Linked DNA regions of Homo sapiens: all the other regions are linked to region 1. The links are contacts of gene promoters, found by promoter capture Hi-C in human tissues and cell types (Jung and others, 2019). All regions are on one chromosome and are shown on one strand. Each heading gives the region's core, a stretch centred on a gene start or on the middle of the fragment in contact. The rest is flanking DNA. Distances are from core to core; before and after follow the strand shown. Region 1 holds the start of ECH1 (enoyl-CoA hydratase 1). Region 2 holds the start of ZFP36 (ZFP36 ring finger protein). Region 3 holds the start of PPP1R14A (protein phosphatase 1 regulatory inhibitor subunit 14A). Region 4 overlaps SAMD4B (sterile alpha motif domain containing 4B).

Evidence for each region. The method cuts DNA at HindIII sites, captures the fragments that hold promoters and counts their contacts. A contact is called where the count stands out against the background at its distance.
Region 2: the fragment with the promoter of ZFP36 here is called in contact with the fragment with the promoter of ECH1 in region 1 in 1 of the 25 tissues and cell types used here (dorsolateral prefrontal cortex).
Region 3: the fragment with the promoter of PPP1R14A here is called in contact with the fragment with the promoter of ECH1 in region 1 in 1 of the 25 tissues and cell types used here (bladder).
Region 4: a contact is called between a fragment that was not itself captured here and the fragment with the promoter of ECH1 in region 1, in 1 of the 25 tissues and cell types used here (dorsolateral prefrontal cortex).

Annotation. Positions count from the first base shown.
Region 1 is chr19:38,827,441-38,834,504 of GRCh38, forward strand. It overlaps ECH1 (enoyl-CoA hydratase 1), which reads right to left and starts at 4,354. Exons shown (of 10, transcript NM_001398.3): 1 at 4,281-4,354; 2 at 3,869-4,076; 3 at 3,638-3,726. The coding sequence starts at 4,332. All of the region lies in intron 1 of LOC124904712 (a long non-coding RNA gene), which reads left to right. RefSeq lists an enhancer at 4,253-4,402. The HindIII fragment of the contact is 9,746 bases long and covers 4,249-7,064 here.
Region 2 is chr19:39,405,096-39,411,655 of GRCh38, forward strand. ZFP36 (ZFP36 ring finger protein) reads left to right here and starts at 1,752. Exons shown (of 2, transcript NM_003407.5): 1 at 1,752-1,833; 2 at 2,648-4,312. The coding sequence starts at 1,810. The coding sequence ends at 3,604. It overlaps MIR4530 (microRNA 4530), which reads right to left and starts at 4,583; the gene lies at 4,528-4,583. RefSeq lists silencers at 1,346-1,795, 4,586-4,645, 4,996-5,315 and enhancers at 1,916-2,115, 2,166-2,803, 2,804-3,442, 3,443-4,080, 4,343-4,933 and 1 more. The HindIII fragment of the contact is 20,061 bases long and covers 1-6,560 here.
Region 3 is chr19:38,251,205-38,257,623 of GRCh38, forward strand. PPP1R14A (protein phosphatase 1 regulatory inhibitor subunit 14A) reads right to left here and starts at 5,170. Exons shown (of 4, transcript NM_033256.3): 1 at 4,935-5,170; 2 at 1,690-1,770; 3 at 1,102-1,134; 4 at 33-242. The coding sequence starts at 5,135. The coding sequence ends at 114. RefSeq lists a silencer at 4,962-5,149. The HindIII fragment of the contact is 12,856 bases long and covers 743-6,419 here.
Region 4 is chr19:39,365,483-39,371,659 of GRCh38, forward strand. SAMD4B (sterile alpha motif domain containing 4B) reads left to right here. Exons shown (of 14, transcript NM_001384574.2): 4 at 4,173-4,643. It also overlaps the pseudogene RN7SL566P. Among named protein-coding and RNA genes, the nearest start is that of PAF1, 23 kb to the right of the region's middle. The HindIII fragment of the contact is 4,760 bases long and covers 449-5,208 here.

The DNA of each region.
Region 1 (7,064 bases), core at 3,104-5,603:
AGGAGAGTGGCAGAACACTCTCTCGGTGTTTTTGAAAATGGTTTTGAAAACTTTCAGCCTGAGGGCAGACTGAAATTGTGCTTGAAGAGCCACAGGATAGAGTCCAAGGTGACCAAAGCTGCCGGGAAGTGAGGGGGGATATTCCAAAGAGGGGAGAGCCAGAGCGAGGAGTCCCGAATTCTGTGTATCAACTCTGCCCTAATCTCTTGCTGGGAGATGTATGTTTTTGTTGTTGTTTTTGTTTTGAGATGGGTTCTTGCACTGTCACCCAGGCTGGGTGCAGTGGCACGACCACAGCTCACTGCAGTTTTGACCTCCCTGGTTCGAGCCATCCTCCCACCTCAGCCTCCAGAGTAGCTGGGAGTGTGGTCATTCATCACACCCAGCTAATTTTTGTTAGAGACAAGGTCTCAGTGTGTTGCCCTGGCTGAAGATTAGTTTTTAAATCTTTTGCTGGGGGTGCATGTATGGTCTGTAAATCAGCAAGAAGCCAGGCACAGTGGTTCACGCTTGTAGTCCCAGCACATTGGGAGGCCGAGTCAGGAGGATCGCTTGAGTTCAAGAGTTGAAGACCAGACTGGGCAACATAGCAAGACCTCATCTCTACAAAAAAATAAAAATAAAAACAGAAAAACCAAAAAAACTAATTCCAACTAAGCTACCAAAACACGAAACTCAACACTCTTTGGAACTATATGATAGAATCCAGAGTATCCACATCTTATTCCTATATCCCAATATCCAAGAAACAATCCAAACTAACTCAAAATACAAAGAAACAGGAAAGTGAAGCCGTTTTCTTTTTTTTGAGACAGAGTCTCGCTCTTGTCACCAAGGCTGGAGTGCAATGGCGTGATGTAGGCTCACTGCAACCTCTGCCTCCTGGGTTCAAGCGATTCTCCTGCCTCAGGCTCTCCAGCAGCTGGGATTACAGGCATGCACCACCACGCCGGGAAAATTTTTGTATTTTTAGTACAGACGGGGTTTCACCATGTTGGCCAGGCTAGTCTTGAACTCCTGACCTCAAGTGATCCACCCACCTCAGCTTCCCAAAGTGCTGGGATTACAGGCATGAGCCACTGAGCCCAGCCTGCCATTTCCAAGCGAAAAGATGATAAGGAGACTGACCCCAAGATGACCCAGATGTTGAGATTAGAAGATAAGGAGTTTTTGTTTTGTTTTTATTTTGTTTTTAGAGGGAGTCTCGCTATGTCACCCAGGCTGGAGTGCAGTGGCGCCATCTCGGCTCACTGCAACCTCTGCCTCCCAGGTTCACGCCATTCTCCTGCCTCAGCCTCCCGAGTAGCTGGGACTAAAGGTGCCCGCCACCATGCCTGGCTAATATTCTTTTTTTTTATTTTTAGTAGAGATGGGGTTTCACCATGTTAGCCAGGATGGTCTCGATCTCCTGACCTCGTGATCCGCCTGCCTCGACCTCCCAAAGTGCTGGGATTACAGGCGTGAGCCACCACACCTGGCCAGAAGACAAGGATTTTAAATCAGTCATTATAACTATGCTCAATGGCAGGAAGAAAAACATGCATGACAAAAAATATACAACTGACCAGGCACAGTGGCTCACGCCTGTAATCCCAGCACTTTGGGAGGCCGAGGGGGGCCGATCACTGGAGGCCAGGAGTTCAAGACCCGCCTGGCCAAAATGGTGAGACCCCGTCTCTACTAAAAATATAAAAATTAGCCAGGCGTGGTGCCGGGTGCCTGTAATCACAAGTACTCAGGAGGCTCAGGCAGGAGAATGGCTTGAATCTGGGAGGTGGAGGTTGCAGTGAGCCCAGACTGCACCACTGTACTCCAGCCTGGTCAACAGAGTGAGACTCCTTCTCCAAAAAAAAAAAAAAAAAAAAAAAAAATTAGCTAGGCCTGGTGGCGGGCATCTGTAATCCCAGCTATGCAGGAGGCTGAGGCAGGAGAATTGCTTCAACCCAGGAGGCAGATGTTGCAATGAGCCAAAATTGCATCACTATACTCCAGCCTGGGTGACAAAGCGAGACTCTGTCTCAAAATAAATGAATAAATAAAATAAAATAAAATATGAACCAAATGGAAATTGGAGAATTGAAAACTACAATATCTGGGCTGGGCGTGGTAGCTCACGCCTGTAATCTCAGCACTTTTGGAGGCCGAGGCGGGCAGATCACGAGGTCAGGAGATCGAGACCATCCTGGCTAACACGGTGAAACCCCGTTTCTACTAAAAACACAAAAACTTAGCTGGGTGTGGTGGCAGGCACTGGTGGTCCCAGTACTCGGGAGGCTGAGGCAGAAGAATGGCCTGAACCCGGGAGGCAGAGCTTGCAGCGAGCCGAGATCGCACCACTGCACTCCAGCCTGGGTGACAGAGCGACTCTGTCTCAGAAAAAAAAAAAAAAGAAAGAAAACTACAATATCTGAAATTTAAAATCAGTGGGTAGTAGCTGGGCACGGTGGCTCACGCCTATCATCCTAGCACTTTGGGAGGCCCTAGGTGGGTGGATGACCTGAGGTCAGGAGTTTAAGACCAGCCTGGCCAACATGGTAAAACTCCGTCTCTACTAGAAACACAAAAAATTAGCCGGGCGTGGTGGCGGGCACTTGTAACCCCAGCTACTTGGGTGGCTGTGGCAGGAGAATCACTTGAACCCAGGAAGCAGAGGTTGCAGTGAGTTGAGATTGCACCATTGCAACAAAAGCAAAACTCCGTCTGAAACAAAATAAAACAAAATAAATCACTGGATGGGCTTTACAGAAGGATAGAGATGACTAAACAGTTAGTAACTGTGACCAGTGGAAATTCTCCAATCTGAAGAAAAGGTCAGTGGGTCAATCCAAAGATCCAACTGACCTGTAACTGGAAATCAATTAGTGAGTTGAATAGTTGCACGAAAGCATGTTATTATATTATATGCTGACACAGCTATAGGCTGAGAGGTTAAGCATGTTGTTCATGGCCACAGATCCAGGATGGAAACCTAGACTTCAGAGCCTATGATCCCATCGTGTTCTGTCAGACTAATACTTATATTTGAATGTTTTAAAGTAGGCCTTTTTTTAAAAAAATGATAGGGCTGGCCATGGTGGCACCTGCCTGTAATCCCAGCATTTTGGCAGGCTGAGGTGGGAGAATCGCTTGACCTCAGGTATTTGAGGTTACAGTGATTTATGATTAGGCAACTGTACTCCAGCCTGGGTGACAGAGAAAGATATTGTCTCCAAAAAAAAAAAAAAAAACACACAGATAAAAGTGTGAGTTAGGGGCCAGGAGCAATGGTTCAGGCCTATAATCCCAGCACTTTGGGAGGCTGAGGCAGGCAGATCATAACGTCAGGAGATGGAGACCATCCTGGCCAATATGGTGAAACCCCGTCTCTACTAAAAATACAAAAATTAGCTGGGTGTGGTGGCCCACGCCTGTAGTCCCAGACAGAAGAATTGCTTGAACCCGGGAGGTGGAGGTTGCAGTGAGCTGAGATTGCGCTACTGCACTCCAGCGTGGCAACAGAGCAAGACCCCGTCTCAAAAAAAAAAAAAAAAAGTGTGTAAGTCAGAAGCTGCTTAAAACCCTAATTCAGAAGCACTGCTCCACTGTCTATTGCCAGGAGCTAGGAAGGCTGGCAGGGTGTGTGAAGAGCGTCTGGTACCTGCAGTGAACATTTTTCCTGCACCAGAGATCACCACCGCCCGACAGTCAGCGTCTCTCGAAATCTTGTTGAAGCACTCTACCATCTCTCTGTGAAGCAACGAGTGAAGGGTTACAAATGGGGCGGGAATACCCTGCCCTCATGTCCATCTTCCCACAACGTTCCACTTTCACCCAGTCCCGCAGCCCCGCCTCCCCCCGCAGGCAGGCCTCCAGGATCTGCAGGTCAGACCTCCAGAAGACCTTGTTCATGGCATTCCTCTTGTTGGGCCGGTTGAGCTGGACATGCAGAACATGTTTCTGCGCAGACGTCACACGAAGGGACTCATAGCTGTGGTCTGGGGCTTCACCGAGGGCTACTCCGGAAGCCTCCTCTTGTGCAGAGGAGCCAGTGAGGCGAAGGCTAATACTGAGTCCCGGGTAGTTGGAGCCTGTCAGTCCTGGGGAGAAAGGAACAGCCTTTGATGACCCCAGACTGCAAGACACAGGCCTATCGAATTAGGGAGTCCTTCAAAAGGGAGCACACGCACCCCTGAATTTAGGGGACTCGGGCCCTTCGTGACCCCGGATAGCCCTCCCCGTCCTACATCTGCTATAACAGCACGACAGCGCGACGCACCCCCATAAGGCAAGAGGTGACTCACGCCGGGTCAGTAGGTCGCGGAGTCTGCGAGAAGCCACTATCCCCGCCGCCATCGCCGCCGCCTTCGTCTACTGCGTTCGGACGGAGTAACGTGCCCGTTAGCGGAGGGGGCGGGCACAGAAGGCCGCCATGTTGAGCGAGGGCACCGATGCCGCAACCTGACAGGCAATGACGCCGTTCTTTCCGCCATCTTTACTAAGGGCAGTCGATTTCCGGTTGCCTTACATAGAGCCAGGCTCAGAAATGGACCCTTTGCCCCAGTGGGAACCTGGCCAAAGAAAATAGCTCCTGCAATGGCGTGAACCTGGGAGGCGGAGTTTGCAGTGAGCCGAGATCGCGCCATTGCTCTCCAGCCTGGCGACCGAGCGACACTCCGTCTTAAAAAAAACAAAACAAACAAACAAAAAAAAAAACAGAAAAGCAAACAGCTCCCGCTAAAGTTCATCACACAGCTGTTTCATAATGGTGGAATAATAGGCGACAGCTGAAATGTCCAAGGACATAATTGCAGCAGAGCTTGTAATCATGCATGTATATATCATGTTAACTAAAAATAAAAGAAAACTTGCAGTACTGTGAGTTTACTCAGGTAAAGGAATGAGTACAGACGGGCCAACATTAAGCGCTGACTGTATAATATGAACTCCCACCAGGAGGTCGTACTATTTCCTACTATATGCAGAGGAAACTGGCCCAGGCACGGGAAGACACTAGGTTCAAGGTCGGTGGGCTTCAGAAGGGCTAAAGCAGGATTACCTGGCACCAGAGTTCATGTTCTTAGCCTGGCGCAGTGGCTCACGCCTGTAATACAAGCACTTTGGGAGGCCGAGGCAGGCGGATCACCTGAGGTCAGGAGTTCAACAGCAGCCTGGTCAACATGGCGAAACCCCGTCTCTACTAAAAATACAAAAATTAGCCGGGTGCGGTGTCCGGCACCTGTAATCCTAGCGGGAAGAGAATGGCTTGAGCCCAGGAGGCGGAGGTTGCAATGAGCAGAGATGGCACCACTGTACCCCAGCCTGGGCGACAGAGCAAGATCTCAAAAAAAAAAAAAAGAAGAAAAAAAAGTTCATGTTCTTAAAAAAAACAAACAAAACAAAAAAACCGAAATTCCCTTGGGAAAAGCCAGCTACCAAAAGGCATAAAAAGTACTGTAAAACTGCTGGCCGGGCGCGGTGGCTCACGCCTGTAATCCCAGCACTTTGGGAGGCCGTGGCGGGCAGATCACGAGGTCAGGAGATCGACCTCCTGACCTAGCTAACACAGTGAAACCCCGTCCCTACTAAAAAAATACAAAAACTTAGCGGGCATGGTGGCGGGCGTCTGTAGCCCCAGCTACTGGGGAGGCTGAGGCTGGAGAATGGCGTGAACCCCGGAGGCGGAGCTCGCAGGGAGCCGAGATGGCGCCACTGCACTCCAGCCTGGGGACAGAGCGAAACTCCATCTCAAAAAAATAAAAAAAAAAAGTACTGTAAAACTGCTTAAGTATGCTTTTTGGGGAGACATTGAGCAAGGCGGTGAACAGATGTCTCTGGGCCAGTGAGATTGAAGGAAGTATCTTTCCTTAATGAACCTGTCTCCTGTGTGTTTTCACAGACTAGAAAAGCAGGCTCTTTTGAAAGACAGAACCATTAACTACCCATCAACAGTAGACTGTTTATACCATAGAAAACTCTGAAACCTCTATGCAAAAATAAAAATGTGTGAGAAAAAAATGTGAAGATGTAATAGAACATTTAGTATGATCCTTTGTTCCTTTGGTGTAAGAAAGTATAGCTGGGCTGGGTGCGGTGGCTCAGGTCTGTAATCCCAGCACTTTAGGAGGCCCAGGCAGGCAGATCACCTCAGGTCAGGAGTTTGAGACCAGCATGGCCAACATGGTGAAACCCAATCTCTATTAAAAATATAAAAATTAGCCAGGCGTGTTGGCTCATGCCTCTAATCCCAGCACTTTGGGAGGCCAAGGCGGGTGGATCACAAGGTGAGAAGATCGAGACCATCCTGGCTAACACGGTGAAACCCCATCTCTACTAAAAATACCAAAAATTAGCCGGGCGTGGTGGCGGGCGCCTGTAGTCCCAGCTATTCGGGAGGCTGAGGCAGGAGAATGGCGTGAACCCAGGAGGCGGAGCTTGCACTGATGTGAGATCACGCCACTGCACTCCAGCCTGGGCCACAGAGCAAGACTCTGTCTAAAAAAAAAAAAAAATTAGCGGGGCGTGGTGGCAGGTGCCTGTAATCCCAGCTACTTGGGAGGCTGAGGCAGGAGAATTGCTTCAACCCAGGAGGCAGAGTTTGCAGTGAGCTGACCTCATGCCACTGCACTCCAGCACTTCAGCCTGGGTGACAGAGTGAGACAATGTCTCAAAAAAAAGAGTGTAGCTGGACCTGCACAGAATATGGTGTATGTATGTAATATCTCTGGAAGGAGACTCAAACTGGTAACAGGAAATGAAATTGGATGCTAGGAGACAAACTGGTAAAATTCACTTTTTATCACCTTGACTGGCTTAAAAACAATAAACCCTAGTTGATTTTATTTATGGCTGCAAGATGACTGTAGTTTTTCCTTGTCTAAAGATTGTTTGAAACTTCCCATAGTGAAGCAAAACTTGTTCATCTGCCAAATGATGCTTTTGTGATGTCATTAAATGTTAAAAATGTAAGGCCGGGCGCAGTGGCTCATGCCTGTATCATAGCTACTTTGGGAGGCCGAGGCCAGTGGATCTCAGGAGTTCGAGACCAGCCTAGCCAATATGGTGAAACCCCATCTCTACTAAAAATA
Region 2 (6,560 bases), core at 502-3,001, 580 kb after region 1:
AGACCTCCACCTTGCCAATCTTGAGTTTTCTCAGAGGGCAAACCTCGACATAATTTCAGACCCTAGTATGAGGCCTGTGCCATTTGCTAGCTCGAACTAGGAGAGTAACTTTATTTTTCCCCCTGAGAGGGAGTCTCGCTCTGTGGCCCAGGCTGGAGTGCAGTCGCCTGATCTCGGCTCATTGCAACCTCTGCCTCCTGGGTTCAAGCGACTCTCCCACCCCAGCCTGCTCCCTCCCCGCCCCCGAGTAGCGGGACCACAGGGTGTGCGCCACCACACTCAGCTAATTTTTGCATTTTTGTAGAAATGGGGATTCGCCGTGTTGCCCAGGCTAGTCTCAGACTCCGAGCTCTAGTGATCCGCCTGCCTTGGGCGCCCAAAGTGCTAGGACTACAGGTGTGAGCCGGGCAGGAGAGTAACTTCACTTTGGTTTCCTCCTGCCTTAAATGGGCATACCACCTGGCATTAGGATTAATGTGCGTAAAGTACTTAGAACTCAGCCCAGGTGAGTTCTCCTTAACTCAGCCTAGAAGAGATCATCCGCCCGAGGGTGAGGGGGCTAGAGCCGCCCTGTGAATTGGGAAAGGAGGCCCCTTTTCAGCCTTGCCAGGTATCCTGGACCCCACCCAACCCACTCACTCACCCACCCAACCCCAGCAAGTGGGGAGAGGGAGAGCAGTCCAGGTCTCCTTATCTGTCTGGGCTGTTTAGGAGTGAGACCACACAAGGCAGGCAGTTCTCAGAGAATTCCCCTCCAAGGCCTGCTGGCTCTTTCTTGGCACTTTGCTCTGCAGATTTCTTTCCGTAAGTGCTTATTTCTCACAGTCTTTCTCCTTTTTGTCCAGTTTCTTTTTCTTTTTAATTTTTTTAAATAGTATTTTTTGTAGACATGGGATCTCACTGTTGCCCAGGCTGATCTTGAACTCCTGATCTCAGGTAATCCACCTGCCTCATCCTCTGAAAGTACTGGGATTGGCCGGGCTTGGTGGCTCACACCTGTAATTCCAGCTCTTTGGGAGGCGGAGGTGGGAGGATCGCTTGAGCCCCGGAGCTGGAGATTAGCCTGGGCAACATAGGGAAACCCCGTCTTTCAAAAAAAAAAAAAAAGAAGAAGAAAAAGGAAAGAAAAACACAAAAAGTGCTGGGATCACAGGTGTGAGCCACTGCGCTCAGCCCCTTTCTGTTTCTTTTTGTGATCCTCCCAACCCTCTTCTCCCTCTGAATCTGTCTCTGGGACTGTCTCTGTCTCCCCGTCTTCCCTCCCTTCCTCACCCTGTCTATCTCTCTCTGTATGTCTCTTGGTGTGTGTGTCTCTCTCGATGTTTTTCTCTCTGCCTGTCTGCCTGTCTGTACCCCTCTGCGTCTCTCCCCGCCCCCATCCGTCTGTGTCGCACGCGCACCCCCATCGGGCTTCTGCTCTTGTCAATTGCCCCTGGGGCCCTGCCCCCACCTCCGCCCCAGTTTCCTTCTACAAGCCTCAGTCTCCAGCTTTGAAAACTGGGCAGGCGTCCCCCCATCCGCACCCCCACCCCTTCCCCACGCATTCCCCGCTCGGTCACGGCTGTCCACCGGCCAAGCTCAGGCGCGTCCTGGCCCAGGGCCGGGCGGAAGGGAACCAGTCCAGGGCCAGCCAGGCTGCGCCGGGGGCGCGCGTCCGGGAAGCGCCCCTCCTGCCCCGCCCCCGGCCCCGGCCCCGGCCCCGCCCCGTGCTTGCAGTTTCCTATAAGTAGCCGGCTCTCGGTGCCAGCCTCAGCCTGACTTCAGCGCTCCCACTCTCGGCCGACACCCCTCATGGCCAACCGTTACACCATGGATCTGACTGCCATCTACGAGGTGAGTCCCCGCCGCACGGCATCCCCGGTACCTGCATGCCTGAGTCCGAGTCCCCACCTCTCTAGCGCCGCAAACTCCAGCCCGGGACGCTTGCCTCCCTTCTCCAACTGGGGCTCCCTAGCGCCGCGCCCTCCAGCCTGGGGCCCCTGCCTCCCGCTCAGACCAGCTTGGTGATTTGGAGGTGAAAATGGAACCCGCGACACCCGGCTCTTCGCTCAAACATGGGTGGGGCGGCCCATGCAAGTGGAAAGTCGGAGAACTTTTCTCAGACCGAGGCTGCCTGGAGGCGGAAGTGGCCCCCATACCTGGCTCACCCCTAGTCGTTGCTGAGGGCGTGGTTTTGCGCGGAGGCGTCTCTGGGGCTGAAGTCTCAGGGTGGGGGGATCCGACTTCTGTCTCTCCAGTCCCTGACCGTAGAGACAGAGAACCCTAAAACCGAAGCAATCCGGACTTCCAGGTCAACTTTGCCCGGTTTCTCCAGTTGTGAAACTGGAGATCCCGACGCGTGGGTCATATCCGGGGAGGACAAGAGACCCAAAATTGGGAAACAGTGGTGCGCCCTGACTTCGGGGTCCCCCTCTTGGTCCAGCCGGGGAAGCCGGGATTCCTGGGTCCCTCGGGATAAGGCCTCGGTGGTGGGTAAACTCAGAACCTCCAACTCTGGGTTCCTGGCATCCGGAACCCAGGGGTTTCTGCGGGCGGGTGGGGCTCAGGCGGGGAGCCCACAAACCGGCCTGGCAAGCTCTAGTTCCCTGCAGCTGGGGTGGGGCGTCGCCCTGCATTTTCAGGTGCCTTAACCGACCCATTTCCGCAGAGCCTCCTGTCGCTGAGCCCTGACGTGCCCGTGCCATCCGACCATGGAGGGACTGAGTCCAGCCCAGGCTGGGGCTCCTCGGGACCCTGGAGCCTGAGCCCCTCCGACTCCAGCCCGTCTGGGGTCACCTCCCGCCTGCCTGGCCGCTCCACCAGCCTAGTGGAGGGCCGCAGCTGTGGCTGGGTGCCCCCACCCCCTGGCTTCGCACCGCTGGCTCCCCGCCTGGGCCCTGAGCTGTCACCCTCACCCACTTCGCCCACTGCAACCTCCACCACCCCCTCGCGCTACAAGACTGAGCTATGTCGGACCTTCTCAGAGAGTGGGCGCTGCCGCTACGGGGCCAAGTGCCAGTTTGCCCATGGCCTGGGCGAGCTGCGCCAGGCCAATCGCCACCCCAAATACAAGACGGAACTCTGTCACAAGTTCTACCTCCAGGGCCGCTGCCCCTACGGCTCTCGCTGCCACTTCATCCACAACCCTAGCGAAGACCTGGCGGCCCCGGGCCACCCTCCTGTGCTTCGCCAGAGCATCAGCTTCTCCGGCCTGCCCTCTGGCCGCCGGACCTCACCACCACCACCAGGCCTGGCCGGCCCTTCCCTGTCCTCCAGCTCCTTCTCGCCCTCCAGCTCCCCACCACCACCTGGGGACCTTCCACTGTCACCCTCTGCCTTCTCTGCTGCCCCTGGCACCCCCCTGGCTCGAAGAGACCCCACCCCAGTCTGTTGCCCCTCCTGCCGAAGGGCCACTCCTATCAGCGTCTGGGGGCCCTTGGGTGGCCTGGTTCGGACCCCCTCTGTACAGTCCCTGGGATCCGACCCTGATGAATATGCCAGCAGCGGCAGCAGCCTGGGGGGCTCTGACTCTCCCGTCTTCGAGGCGGGAGTTTTTGCACCACCCCAGCCCGTGGCAGCCCCCCGGCGACTCCCCATCTTCAATCGCATCTCTGTTTCTGAGTGACAAAGTGACTGCCCGGTCAGATCAGCTGGATCTCAGCGGGGAGCCACGTCTCTTGCACTGTGGTCTCTGCATGGACCCCAGGGCTGTGGGGACTTGGGGGACAGTAATCAAGTAATCCCCTTTTCCAGAATGCATTAACCCACTCCCCTGACCTCACGCTGGGGCAGGTCCCCAAGTGTGCAAGCTCAGTATTCATGATGGTGGGGGATGGAGTGTCTTCCGAGGTTCTTGGGGGAAAAAAAATTGTAGCATATTTAAGGGAGGCAATGAACCCTCTCCCCCACCTCTTCCCTGCCCAAATCTGTCTCCTAGAATCTTATGTGCTGTGAATAATAGGCCTTCACTGCCCCTCCAGTTTTTATAGACCTGAGGTTCCAGTGTCTCCTGGTAACTGGAACCTCTCCTGAGGGGGAATCCTGGTGCTCAAATTACCCTCCAAAAGCAAGTAGCCAAAGCCGTTGCCAAACCCCACCCATAAATCAATGGGCCCTTTATTTATGACGACTTTATTTATTCTAATATGATTTTATAGTATTTATATATATTGGGTCGTCTGCTTCCCTTGTATTTTTCTTCCTTTTTTTGTAATATTGAAAACGACGATATAATTATTATAAGTAGACTATAATATATTTAGTAATATATATTATTACCTTAAAAGTCTATTTTTGTGTTTTGGGCATTTTTAAATAAACAATCTGAGTGTAAGCTGGGATCCTGGCTTCTTCGCGGTCTAGAGACAGGAATGGAGAGGGAGGGGGTGACTTTTTGGAAGCTGGGTGCAGTTAACTCTTCCTCTCCGAGCCCCGCGGCGCTTACCTGGCAGGAAGTGACGTCACCGGGCCTGGCCGTTCACCTGAAAGGGTGGGACCAGGTGAGGTCACCAGATGGGAACCGGGGGAGCCAGTTCCCGGGCGTCGGGGGCGCCGCGCTCCCGTCCTGCTGGGCTCCTTGACCCAGCTTCGGGCGGGTGCGGTCGGGGACGGGATGTTTCCGTCCCCACGGGGCCGCGGGAGGCGGGAGGGGCCGGGTGGGGAGGACGGAATGTGCTGGGGCGCGCGCCCAGAGCGAGCGGGGGCGGGCGCGGGGCGGGGCAGCCTGGGGTAGCGGAACCCGTTTCGGGACTAGAGGTTCCGGGGGGGCTTCGACACCTTCTGGATGTTGGGGAAGCGGGTTTAGGGTCTCAAGAGGCTAGGATCTCAACATTTGGGAGTCACAGGTTGCATCCCCTAGCGCTTTAGACTCTAGACCCCTGGTGGCTCGGAGTTGCAGATTTCTGGCCACCCGGGACCCTGGAGCCCGGGAATTACCGGGTCTTGGCATTTCCGAACCTTGGAAGTCCGAGGCTTCGCACACCGACCAGGGTCGGCCCCGCGAGGCCAGGGCGTGTGGGTAGGGGCCGCGCGTCTAGGAGGGGCCCCGGGGGAGCCGCGTCTTCAGACCATACAAGGCCAGCGTCGTCGGGACCAACCCCGGGGCCCCGCGCCCGGAAGCCGCCCTGCGTCAGCGCCTGCGGCTCGGCCCTGCCGCCCAGCCTTCGCCCCCTGCGACCCCTCTTTTTTCTCCTTGCCCCGCACTCCTCCCTCCTCCCTCTCACTTCCCTCTTCTCTCCTTTCCCTACCCTCACCCTTCCTCCTCTTTTTCACTTCCTCCTCTGCACCCTTCTGCCCCGCCCTACACCCTTTGCCTTCTGTTCTTCTCTCCCCCTCCAATTTGTCCCCTCCCTCATTACTCCTCTCCCACTTCCAGCCTCCCCATCCTGCCGTCTCTTACCCCCTTTCTCCTCCTTCCCGTCTCCCTTCTCTCCCTTTTTCCGTCCTTCTTTCCCTCTCCACCCTTTCCTTGCCCTCCCACTCCCCATTGTCCTCTTCCCCTCCTCCCCCTAGCCTTACTCCTTCTCCTCTTCTCTCTCCCTCTGAAGCCCCTTTCCCTCCTCTCCCTTCTCTCTACCCTCCTCAAGCCTCCCTCCTGCTCTCAGGCCTCCTTGGCCCACTCCCCTTGCTCACTGACATTTGGTCTCCTCTTCCAGGAAACTGCTTCCCTTGTGGGAAAGGGCTCAGGCCCTAATAAGTAGAAGAGGATCAGGCGAGAGGGAGTCAGAACCCCTGAGATGCAAAGGCAGCAGAGGGGCAGAGACCAAGAGCAAGCAGTGAAGAGACATTTGCAGAAACAGTCTTGGAGACTGAAAGAACAACATCTCTGGTCCTTCCTTTAGCCAGATCTGATTCTCTGCCCCTTCCCCAAAAAATCCCTCATATAAGAAAACGGCACTTCTCACCATCTACCAGGGCTTAAGCCAGACACCCAGGAGTATCCCTTGACACCTTGTTCTCAAATCCACACCCCAGTCCAACAGCAATCCTGTCTGATCCACCTGCAAAATAGATCCACTATCCACCTGCCCCCACCATGACCCCCACCCTGGTCCTAGCCAACATCGTCTGCCATTTGCATCTTCATAGCAGCCCCAGCCCCAGTCTCTGCTCTAGCCCCTGCCTTCAGTCTCTCCTTTCTCCACTCCCCCACGAGACAACCAAAGGAAGCCTGTTATGAGACCTGAGTCAGGTCACATAAAAGTCAAAGTCCGAAGTCCTCCCCACAGCCCACACAATCTGGCACCCATCGCTTACCCTCCCCCTTGGCCACTCTGCTCCAGCCACACTGGCCTCCTAGCTGCTCTACCAAGTCTGGTCTGCTTCATCCATAGGAGCTTTGCACTAGCTGTTCCCTCTGCCTGAACACTCCCCTGGTGTCCCCATGGCTCACTCCCCTCCTTCATGTCTCTGCTCAAAAGTTGCCTTCTCTGTGAGATCCTCCCTGACCACTGCTGTTGCAATCCACACCCCACCTCCAACTACCCCATCCTCCCTACCTTGCTCGACTTTTTCCATGACATTTATCATCACCACCTAACATTAAAATGTACTTAATTCTTATGTTGACAGCAATCTGCCTC
Region 3 (6,419 bases), core at 3,920-6,419, 580 kb before region 1:
AACCCGGGGGGAGGAAAAACAGCCACACAGTGTTATTGTTACAGAACCATTAAATACAACTTATACACAAGCAAGCTGGGCGGCGTCCGGGGGGCAGGGAGAGTGCAAGAGGGTCAGGGGTGAGCAGTCCGGGCCCGGTCCTGGAGGGGGCTGAGGCTGCCGTCGTGGGAGGGGCTTGGCTGGCGGAGGCCGGGCTGCCTGTGGAGGCCTTGAAGCTTTGCCAGCAGCTCCTGGATGAAGTCCTGAGACAGGGTGGGGGAGCTGAGAACATGGGAACAGTGCGGGGGCACCCTCTGCCCCTGTCCAGCCCAGTCCCTGACCTGGGCGCCTCCTCCTGTTCTCTGATTGTGGGGTGGGGGGAGTTAGGGGCGGAGGCTATAGACATAGAGAGAAAAGTGAGCCGGGAGAAAGACAGAGATGGGGAAAGGGCGATGGGAGGGATGGAGAGAAAGAGCTAGGAAGAGAGATAGAGATCCAAGGAGACAGATACGGAGTGGGGGAGGGGGAGAAACAGACACAGAAACAGAGAGACATGTAGAGATAGAGACAGAGAGAGACATAAGGACAGAGAAAGAAACAGAGACATGTGGAGACAGGTCCCCAGAGATAGATCCAGGGCGAACAGAAATGCAATGACGTTTGTCCCTAGAGCTAGTTGGAGAAACATGAATAGTTTTCCCTTTTAAAGCAGGGAAGGAAGTGGGAGGGGTTGGGCCGCTCAGCTTCAGGGCCTGGGAGGATGGAGGGCCCCCAGAGGTGGGGAAGGGAGCCCGGGGTGGCGGAGGCAGTGACAGGGGAGGACAGAGGGAGACTGAGCCCGAAGGCTGGTGGCCAAAGGACAGGCACAGGAGAGGCAAAAACAGGGCAGATGGGGGAGGACAGAATGGAGCCCCCTCAGCAGATGGGGGAGAGAGGGAGAGAGACAAGTAGGAGGACAAAAGACACCCCTGGAGACCAGAAAGAGCTGCGGAGGGCAGGTTGGGGCCGGGGGTGGTGGGGCCGGGTGGTGTTCCCCAGAGACCCTTCTGCCAGCTTCTTCCCCCTCCCCCATCAGAGTACTTGGGGCCAGAACAGGGAGAGAATGAGGGAGAGAAAACTCACCTCGACAGGTTTCCCACATGACTTCAGGAGTCCCTAAAACCCCCAACCAAGAACAAAACAAAACAGTAAATGACTAACACCTACTCCCCTCCAGCCCCTTCCCTTTCCCAAAAGGCCCCAGCAGCAAGACAAATGGAAGTCAGACTCCAGGGTGGACTGCCCACCAAGCTTCAAGAGAGGAACAGAGCCCAAGGGGCATGTGGATCGACTCAGGGCAGGGGTGAGTTACTAGATCCAGAGAGGGCGAGAGGGTCACACAGCACTTCCCTCCTCTAAAAAGGTATAAGCCATAAGCAAAGACATGGCTGCCAAACTGCCTGGGTTCGATGCCCAGCTCTGCTCCTTCTGAGCTGTGTGACACTGGGCAAGGGATTCAACCTCTCTGGGCCTCATTTTCCTCATGGGGAAAATGGAGCTCACACTAGCGCCTGCTTCGGAGGGTTTTGTGAGGGTTAAGTGAGTGAATACATGTAAAGCCATCACACCAGTGCCCGGCATCTAGTGAGCACTCAGTAAACACGTGAACTATTGCTATTATTTTTAGGGAGGTGCAAAGTGGGAGGCTGGGGGACACGTCCCCCCACCTACCTGGATTTTCCGGCTTCTCTCCTCTTCACTCTCTAACTCCAACAATTCATCAATGTTGATCTCATCGGGCATGTCTGCCTCCTAGGGCCAGGGAGGGAGGGGTGCTTAGGATCCCCTTCCCTCCCTCCCTCGCCTTTGTCCAGGGCTCTGCAGGAGCCCCACCGGCCCCAGGGCCCAGCTGGCGGGTTCTGGAGCATTAATGTGGCAGTCCGGGACAGCACTGCCAAGACGGGACATCTGGGTGTTGGGGGGGAGGGGTGACAGATGGGCTGAGAGAGCCCCGGGGCCCTGTACCAGCCCGATGCCTGGGCCCATGGGCCCCGGGAGCCTCGGGGCTGGCACGGGTCTCTCGCCTTGGCTCTAGTTCCCACAGAGGAAAACAGGCCTAGTGGAGTCCTGGAATGTCAGATTCTGGGATTCGGGAGAGGAGCTGGCTTCTGCCCTTTCAAGGAAAAGTCTTAGCACTAGGTGCAGGGGAGGAGAGGCTGGCAGCCAGCAGCCAGCTGGGGCGGCCCCTTCCCCCAGGGGACAGGAAGGGAGGGGACAGGAAGGGAGGGGACGGCTTGGGCCAGCCCCCAGAGGGCCAAAATGCAGCCTGGTGAGACCGAAGGGAGGACCACCGAGGCCCCTCAAGGTGGGTGGGTGGGATGAGTCATGGCTCAACTCAGCTGCTAAGAGCGGGGCGCTGAGTGTGGCCTCTACAGGCAGTGGCCCAAGCGCAGGCTGGCTCAGTACCCCTGCTGGGAATAGGACCCAGCTGTCCCCAGCTGTCGAGGGAGCAAGAGAGCCTTGGGGTTATGAATCCTTTCCTCCCCAACCCAAAGTCCGGCTGTCGGCTTCAGGCCTGGGGCTTCAGGGCTGGATGGTCCTGGTTCATGTGTGGTGAAGGGGCTTCAGCAAGGACACAGGTGTGTGAGTCTCTGCCAGGGCCACAGCCTGATGCCAAGGGCCTGGGGCTGGCCGAGGATGCAGAGGGACCTGGCATCGTGCAGTGGCTTCGTATAGTGGACTGTGGTCCTGCAGGTGTGAGGTGTGTGGCTCTGGCTTGGGTGTGTGACACATCAGCATGTGTCCACAGTCAGCTGTGGGGCCCACCACCTGAGAATGGCCTCATAGATGCCACCTGCCACTAGCAACCAGATTGGTTCACCTGTATGGGCCCAGGTGTGAGTCTGAGAACAGAGGGACTGCATGTCACCATGGGAGAAGGGCCATGCCTTCCACCATTGTCGCACCATGAAGAGGAGGACTCGTGGGTCCTGTGTACACTGTAGCATACAGAAGTCACAGAAGGCCAGGCGCAGTGGCTCACGCCTGTAATCCTGACATTTTGGGAGGCCGACAAGAGAGAATTGCTTGAGCCTAGGAGTTCAAGATCAGCCTGAGCAACATAGCGAGGCCCCATCTCTTTTTCTTTTTTCTTTTTTTTGAGACAAAGTCTCCTTCTGTCACCTAGGGTGGAGTACAATGGCGCGATCTTGGCTCACTGCAACCTCCGCCTCCCGGGTTCAAGTGATTCTCCTGCCTCAGCCTCCCAAGTAGCTGGGATTACAGCTGCCTGCCACCATGCCCGGCTAATTTTTGTAATTTTAGTAGAGACAGGGTTTCACCATGTTGGCCAGGCTAGTCTCGTACTCCTGACCTCAAGTGATCTGCCCACCTTGGCCTCCCAAAGTTCTGGGATTACAGGCGTGAGCCACTGTGCTCGGCCAATGAGGCCCCACCTCTAAGGAAAAGAAAAAAGAAGTCACTGAAAGTGTGACTTCAAGCAGAAACTCAAGTGATGAAGTACCTGTGTGTGTCAATACATGTAGCTGTGGCTTAGGCTCTTGTGTGCCTGTGAGCAGCGGTGGGTTCTGCAGTTGTATGTCCACCTGTTCCTATAGCTTACAGTTTTTTGTTTGTTTGTTTGTTTTTGAGACGGAGTTTCGCTCTTGTTGCCCAGGCTGGAGGGCAATGGCGGGATCTCGGCTCACCGCAACCTCCTCCTCCCGGGTTCAAGCGATTCTCCTCCCGAGTAGCTGGGATTACAGGCATGTGCCACCACACCCGGCTAATTTTGTATTTTTTAGTAGAGACGGGATTTCTCCATGTTGATCAGGCTGGTCTCAAACTCCTGACCTCAGGTGATCCGCCCGCCTCGGCCTCCCAAAGTGCTGGGATTACAGGCGTGAGCCACCGTGCCCGGTGCTTACACAGTTTTATGTCTGGGTGTAGTTATAAATTCTGTTGGGTTTTGTTTGTTTTTGAGACACGGTCTCGCTCTGTTGCCCAGGCTGGAGTGCAGTGGTGCAATCTTGGCTCACTGTGACCTTGGCCTCTCAGGCTCAAGCAATCCTCCCACCTCAGCCTCCTGAGGAGCTGAGATTACAAGTGCGTGCATGCCACCACGCCCGGCTAAGTTTTAAGATTTTTGGTAGAGACAGGTTTTCCCCATGTTGCCCAGGCTGGTGTTGAACTCCTGACGTCAAGCAATCCTCCTGCCCCGGCCTCACAAAATGCGTGAGCCACTGTGCTGGGCCAATTTCTGTTGTTTTATGTCTTTGAGTGGCTGCGGATCAGCGCTTGTGCTTGAAGGTGGTCAGTTTTTTCTTTAGGAGATAAGGAAGGGCCGTAACTTGAGTCATTTTGTGTTCCAGTGGGGTTGTGCTGTGTCTGCCTACGGCTGTGGCCCATGCCGCTGTGTCTGCGGGTGGCTGTGACTGTAGCATATGTTGAACTGTAGGTGACCCCCCCCCAGCCCCCGCTTGTGTCCTTGTGGGTTTGTGCATGGCTGTTACTTCTGGGCTGTGTCCGTGAGTGGCTATAGCTTCCTTCACTGTGCACATCTGTGTCTGCTTTTGCTTCCTTTGCCGTGGGTCTCTGTGTGGCTGTATCTCCCCTGTCACCATGTCTGTGTTTGGCTTTATGACACCCCCCTTCCCCCACTCTTTCTCCAGACGTGGCGGTTTCAGCTCAACTTAGCCTCCTCCCTCCTCATGCTAAACCCCTGGCCCTCCACAGGCGTTTGGACACATCTCTGGAGACCCAAGTCTTTGTGTGTTGCTCTCGGTGTGTCCACAAGCACAATGCCATAGAGCACGGATGGCCAGGCCAATGAGTGCCCGGCCCTGGGGCGCTCGTCCTCTTGTGCAGACCAGGCTGGCCGTGCACCAGCGAGTGTGCACCGAGACCCCAAGGGCGTGGGGTCTCCGCGCCCGGGCTCTATCTGTCCCCGACCACCCCCGAGCCCTCCCCGGGCTCACCATGCCGCGGTACAGCTCCTCCAGGCGCCCGTCGATCCACTTCTCCACGTCCAGCCGCCGCTGCAGCTCCCGCCGGTCATACTTGACGGTGACGCGCGCGTGCCGCTTCTGCAGCCCCCCGGGACTGCCCCCTGGCCCGCGGGCCCGCGATGGAGACTGCAGCTTGCTCAGCACGCGCTTGCCCAGCCGCTGAGCTGCCATCGCGCTGCTGGACCCAGCCTGGCCCCGCGCTGTGCGCCTTCGCCTCGCGCCCCGGGTGCTTCTTACGGGCCAGGGCGGGGCTAGCCGGGGGCGGGGGCTCGGGCTCGCCGGGAGGTCTGCCCCACCCCGGCCGCCTCAGGCCTCAGTTTCCCCGTCTGCAGTGCGAGAGTAGGCCGCTGCGTCGGCTTGAGGCACGCAGTCGTGCGAAGTTGAGGTATGGGCGGGGACCCAGAGTCCCGGGCGGGTCCCTGCATCGGGGGCTCCCGGGCCGGGATCCTGTGGGGCGGGGGCCTGGGACAGACACTCGGGACCCGGCCTGTCTGCGCCCTCTGGCGGTGGCGGGGTGGGGGGCTGTTGGTGCGGGAGCGCCTGCGCCGCTGTCGCTGTAGAAGGTCGAGCGGTCACTTGTTCCTTCGTTCATTCATTCACTCATCCATCCATTTGTTTGTTCACTCATTCCGTTCAACGAATTTTTTTTTTTTTGAGTCGATGTCTCTCTTTGTCGCCCAGGCTGGAGTACAATGGCGCGATCTCGGCTCACCGCAACGTCCGCCTCCCAGGTTCAAGCGATTCTCCTGCCTCAGCCTCCGAAGTAGCTGGGATTACAGGGATGCACCACAACACCCGGCTAATTTTTGTATTTTTAGTAGAGACGGGATTTCGCCATGTTGGCCAGGCTGGCCTCGAACTCCTGACCTCAAGTGATCTGCCTGCCTCCGCCTCCCAAAGTGCTGGGATTACAGGCGTGAGCCACCGCCACTGGCCCGGTTCAACGAATATCTATTAAGTATCCACTCTATACCAGACACTGCTTTACGCTCCAGGGATAGAGCAGGGAACAAAACAGACAAAACCAGTCCCACGCAGTTGACAGTTGTAGCCGGGATACATGAGAAACACAGTAAGTACGGTATTATACAGTTTATTATCATATAAGTGCTTTGGAGAAATATAAAGCAGAGAAGGAGAAATGGAGTGAGGGTAAGGTTGCAATTTTAGCGAGGGTGGCCAGGGAAGTCCCTTACTTCAAAACAGTCTTCTCACTTCTAATTATAAGCAGCAATAATTATACTCTAAAATTTAAATGTGGCTGGGCGCAGTGGCTCACTCCTGTAATCCCAGAACTTTGGGAGGCCAAGGAGGGTGGATCACGAGGTCAGGAGTTCAAGACCAGCCTGGCCAACATGGTGAAACTCCATCTCTACTAAAAATACAAAAATTAGCTGGGCCTGGTGGCACATGCCTGTAATCCCAGCTACTCGGAAGGCTGAGGCAGGAGAATCG
Region 4 (6,177 bases), core at 1,579-4,078, 540 kb after region 1:
AGGTGGAGGTTGCAGTGAACCGAGATCATGCCACTGCACTCCAACTTGAACAACAGAGCAAGCCTCCATGTCAAAAAAAAAAAATGGAGGCACACAGAGCCTGGATTCAGATCTCAGCTGTGTCGCTTAATGGGCTCTGTCACTTAGGGTGTGTGACCTCACCTTCCCAAATCTGTTTTCTCACCTGCAAGATGAGCACACCAAAACAGGATTAAAACAGGGATGAAAAGCAATCATTTTTAGCATAGTGTCTGGCACATAGTAAATGCTCAATAAACAGTATCCTTCATTCTGAATGAAAGTGCCATATGTTATTGCTATTGTCAGTAGTAGCAACAGCAATAGTGGTATTGGTTCTACTATTAATTTTAACCAATGCTGTAGACATAGTATGAGTTGATGACTTTGAATGAATGGATTTAACAGGTGTTCCCTTGGCTGGGCACAGTGGCTCATGCCTGTAATCTTAGCACTTTGGGAGGCTGAGGTGGGCAAGTCATTTGAGAGCAGGAATTTGAGACTAGCTTGGCCAACATAGTGAAAAAAGTAACAGGCAGGACACGGTGGCTAACGCCTATAATCCCAGCACTTTGGGAGGAAAGGTAGGTGGATCACCTGAGGTCAGGAGTTCCAGACCAGTCTGGGCAACATGGTTAAACGCCCCCTCCACTAAAAATATAAAAATTAGCCGGGTGTCATGGTATGTGGCTGTAATCGCAGCTACTCAGGAGACTGAGGCAGGAGAATCGCTTGAACCCCAGAGGCAGAGGTTCCAGTGAGCCGAGATCGTGCCACTGCACTCCAGCCTGGGCAACAAAGTGAGACTCCATCAAAAAAAAATAGCCAGGCATGGTGGTGCACGCCTGTAATCCCAGCTACTTGGGAGGCCGAGGCAGGAGAATCACTTTAACCCGGAGGCGGAGGTTGCAGTGAGCTGAGATCACTGCACTCCAGCCTGGGCAATAGAGCGAGACTCCATCTCAGAAAAATAGAAAACAAAAACTAACAAACAGGTGTTCTCTCTTGGAAGCTTAGAGCAAAGAGCCCCAGGCCAAGAAAATGCACAGTCTTTATAGCCAGGAGTTAGGAACTGTGTGAGATTCATTTTCCTAAGGCTACAAACTTAAGCAGAATTAGGAGTGTATGTGAATTCTAGGCCACAGAGTTCTAAGGGGATCATTAAGAGAAATAGGGCTACAGACAGGGCATTTCTGAGTTTGTATGCAAGGCCAGGTGTCCATCCTTCAGTGTGGGCAGAGGAGACCAGAAGTCCATGGAACTTTTTTTTTAAGTCAATCCTGAAGCATGCTAGATGTCCTTGGAATCGTAAAGGCCTAAGGAACTTGGGTTGAAAGACCCTCAGATGTCTAGGTTTCCAAGACTTTCCTTATAGGTGCTTATTCCTAGCCTCTTGGTTTCCTGGGCCCAGAGATTTGGCTTGTGCCTTTAGAATCTCTGTGTGTATCTGAAAGGAGGGAGACACAGTGAGATATAATAACCACAATACTAGTAAAAGCAGCTAGTGTTTACTGAGGACTTACTCTATGCTGTGGCCTCACATAATTCATAGCAGCCATGCCAGGTAGGAATGATTCTGGGCTCCACTTTACAGATAGAGAAAATAGAGCTCAGTGAAGTGATCACACTTGCCCAGAGTCACATGGCCAGTAAGTGGTGGTAAAGGGACATATGCCACATCTCTGCCTATTCCTTTTCATCACCCACTCCTTTGGGGTCCTAGCTCTGTCTGGTTAGAGCCAGCTCCTTTGCCCATTTCCAAGACCTCACCATTAGCACATCTCTCAGAACTCCTTTGTGAGATATTTGTAAGTCATCACCTTGGCTACAGATGTGAGCTCAGTTGCCCAAGGGTGAGAGCGTAGTTGGCCTCAGACCTAAATCTTTGTCTCTTTTCCCAAGTATTGGTATTTTTTGTCCCTCTCCTTGTCCTGTCAGCATTATCTCCATCTTCCACCCTGTTTAGCTAGTCACAGAAGTGCTAATGAGGTTTTTTTTTTCTTTTTCTTTTTTTTTTTTTTTTTTTTGAGACGGAGTCTCACTTTGCCCCCAGGCTGGAGTGCAGTGGCGCGATCTCGGCTCACTGCAACCTCCACCTCCCGAGTTCAAGTGATTCTCCTGCCTCAGCCTCCCAAGTAGCTGGAATTACAGGCATCCACCACCATGCCCGGTTAATTTTTGTATTTTTAGTAGAGACAGGCTTTCACCATGTCGGCCAGGCTGGTCTCCAGCTCCTGACCTCAGGTGATCCACCTGCCTCAGCCTCCCAGAGTGCTGGGATTACAGGCGTGAGCCACCACGCCCAGTGCTAATAAGGTCTTTGAGGGGGAGAGTCAGACTTGTAACAGTTCCTACCCAAGCCTTCTTTGATGTGGCCAGCCTGGGGCCATATTCTTAGGGACCTCCCTTGTGGGTTGAAAGGGGAAACCTGAGGCCGGGCGCAGTGGCTCACGCCTGTAATCCCAGCACTTTGGGAGGCTGAGGCGGGTGGATCACGAGGTCAGGAGATCGAGACCATCTTGGCTAATGCGGTGAAACCCTGTCTCTACTAAAAATACAAAAAATAAGCTGGGCGTGGTGGTGGGCGCCTGTAGTCCCAGCTACTCGGGAGGCTGAGGCAGTAGAATGGCATGAACTCAGAAGGTGGAGCTTGCAGTGAGCCAAGATCGCGCCACTGCACTCCAGCCTGGGCGACAGAGCGAGACTCCGCCTCAAAAAAAAAGAAAAGGGAAACCTGGCTTATCTCCACAGGGTAGACTCAGGTCCTCACACAGTGGGATAGAAAGGAGAGGTCAAGATGACCATGACATGGAACAGCCAGGGAATGCTTCCTGGAGGAAGGTAGTAAGTTAGGCCATCTACAAAAGAGAATTTGTATAGGAGGAAGGAGGTTGTTGCGGGCCAAAACCTTGAATCTCAGCCAAGGTGTGGAGCTTGGATAAATACATACTGTGGAGAGAACCCCAAGGAAGATGGGGAGATATCCTGAGCTGAGTCTTTATCTGGAGGAATGGGAGATGGAGGGTGCCCTGGAAATGAAGGTGATGTTAGGCTAGGAGTTCTTGGACTTGAGTCTGTTGGTGCTTGCTGGTTGCCATTATAAACTCCTGGTCAGGAACATGACATCCTGTTGTGATTTAGGAAGATAAATGCATCTGGATGTATGGGATCGATTGGAAGGGGAGAATCTAGAAGCAGAGAGACCAGTTAAAAAACAATAGCAAGCATTTATTATGTCGCCAAACCACTTTGTGTTCTTTGCTAGCTCATTGAATCTCAAAGCAACACTGTGAATTGGGTACTGTAATTATCTCCAAAATTTCGCAGATAATTTAGTGCTCCATGAGGTTCAAGGTAGCTTACCAAGATCTAGCTAGTAAGCTGGGGTGTCTAGACCATCTGATTCCAGAGCCCAAGCTTTTAACTACCATATACCACTGCCTTCTCCATTCAGGAAGGAGACTGCTTTTTGGCAGGGGAAATGGCATAGAGGCCATGAAGAATGGAGGAAGGAGTCATGGAGATAAAGCATGAGAGCAGGCCTGGGGACAGGAGTTGTTCAGATTCCAGAGTAGCAAGTTTGGCTGATTGGGAGGCACTGCAGGTTTCTGAGAACAGGAGTGATAGAACAAAGAAAAATTACTCTACACCAGCTGTGGTGGGCACATGACTGTAGTACCAGCTACTTGGGAGGCTGAGGCAAGAGGATTGCCTGAGTCCAGGAGTTCTGGGCTATAGTGTGCTATGCTGATTGGGTGTCTGCACTAAGTGTGGCCCCAGTATGGTGACCTCCTAGGAGTGGGGGACCACCAGGTTGCCTAAGGAGGGGTGAACTGGCCCAGTTTGGAAATGGAGCAGGTCAAAACTCCCGTGCTGATCAATAGTGGGATTGCACTTGTGAATAGCCACTGCACTGCAGCCTGGGCAACATAGTGAGACCCCATCTCTTAAAAAAAATAAGACAAAAATTACTCCAGAGGCAGGGTCAGTGTGTTTGATCTCACCTATATGAGGGATAAGTTTGGGAGTTATGAAAAGAAAATCGTTATGAAAAGAAGATTGGAGCTGAGGGAATAGGCCATAGGCAGTGCTCTCAGGTGAATAGGAGTACCCCACCCTGGCTCTCCTGATATTTCTTCTTATCCCTTCTGTAGCCATCGTCAGCCAGTGGCAGCAGGAGTCCAAAGAGAAGGTGGTGTCCCTCCTGCTGTCCCACCTTCCCCTGCTTCAGCCAGGCAACACAGAGGCCAAGTCGGAGTACATGAGGCTACTGCAGAAAGTGCTGGCCTACTCAATCGAGAGCAATGCTTTCATCGAGGAGAGTCGCCAGCTGCTTTCCTATGCCCTCATCCACCCAGCCACCACACTGGAGGACCGCAACGCACTGGCCCTCTGGCTGAGCCACCTGGAAGAGCGGTTGGCTAGTGGCTTCCGCTCCCGGCCAGAGCCCTCCTACCATTCACGTCAAGGCTCAGATGAGTGGGGGGGCCCTGCAGAGCTAGGCCCTGGGGAGGCAGGGCCAGGCTGGCAGGACAAGCCACCCCGGGAAAATGGACACGTGCCCTTCCACCCATCCAGCTCAGTGCCGCCAGCCATCAACAGTATTGGGAGCAATGCAAACACAGGTAAGTGGCGGGGGTGTCCCAGAAGGCCATGCCTACTTGAAAAAGGTTGGACTAGGCTCAGTGAGAGCTCTCTCGCTCTGTGGCATTAGACAAGTCACATAAGCTGTAGGCCTCAACTTTATGAGGCAATGCAGAGGCTGTGAACTGGCTTTCCCAGAGCTGAATCTGACCTACAGACATGTCTTATTGAACCCATACTTTGGTTTGGTTTTATTTTGTTGTGTTGGGTTTTTAAATAAATGTGAGTGGTACAAAGAATCAAGAATTTTTCCCTAAAAATGAGATTTCCAGCCTTTCTTGAGAAGTCAAAAGATCTAGCAACTCAACAAGATCTGTTTTCCTAGTGGCAGCAATAATATAGAGCTTAATGTTGAGCATGCCCTTTAGACCCTGCACAAGTGCCCTAGTCTGCCTCTGCTCCCACCAACCCCCCTTTGGGCATTTCTGATATATACCTGGCCTCTAAGGGCATCAGGCTATGACGCTTGATGGAGGTGTGCATACCATCATCTGAGATCCCTTCCAGTTCAGACAACATTATGGATTTTATGTATCTGGCCTCACTTTACAGCTTTGTTTCTGAGAACACTGTCTGTATAAGACAAAACTCATGCTGCAAGGTATTTGTAATAGTAGGTAGCATTTTTCAGCATTGACTATGCTAGGTACTCTTTTATAGACACTTTTCAGGTATGATCTCAGTCCGCATCACAACCGTATCATTAGCCCTATTCAACAGATGAGGACATCGGGACTCAGAGGTGAAGTGATGTGTTCAAAGTCACACGTAGAACAAGTGGTGGAACAGACCCAACCAGTCTGATGGCAGAGCCTGCCTCTGACCACTACACTGTCCTGCCAACTAAGCAGGTTTGAAAGAGCTCTCTTAGTAAAAGCCCTGCAGGCGGGAGTGAGCAGAAGTTGTTGGTATCCCAGTGACTTTTTGAAATGCACAGGATAAGGGAGGGTGGATTTTCCAAGCCATGGTAAGGCAGCATGACCTGACCCAGGGTGAGGGAGAGGGTTCATGATGTAAACCTCAGAGTAGCTAGTCACCTTCAGCAGGCACTGGTTTAAAGCAAGACAAGAGAGAGTGACAGTGAAATGTCACATGTGTCAGTGGGTGGGGGTAACCTCGGGTCCCTAATGCCCCGCTGTCTGGTACCTGGTGCTCATCAGTTATTCCTTGAGCCTGTTTTTCCCCCAGTTAGTGTGGCTATTCTGGTCCATCTGCCTCCCTCCCAGTTGCTGGTGAGAACCTGGGAAGATAGAGGGATAGAAGGGCAGTTTCAGGAAACTTAGCAACCTGAGGTGTCTTGGACCTCATTTTCCAGTCATGGAGCATCACAGTTCCAGGATGGGAGGATGTATTAATAATGATCATTCTAGGCAAAAAATATTGAGTGCTAGTCCGGGCATGGTGGCTCACGCCTGTAATCCCAGCACTTTGGGAGGCCGAGGCAGGCAGATCACCTGAGGTCAGGAGTTCGAGACCAGCCTGACCAACATGGTGAAACCTCATCTCTACTAAAAA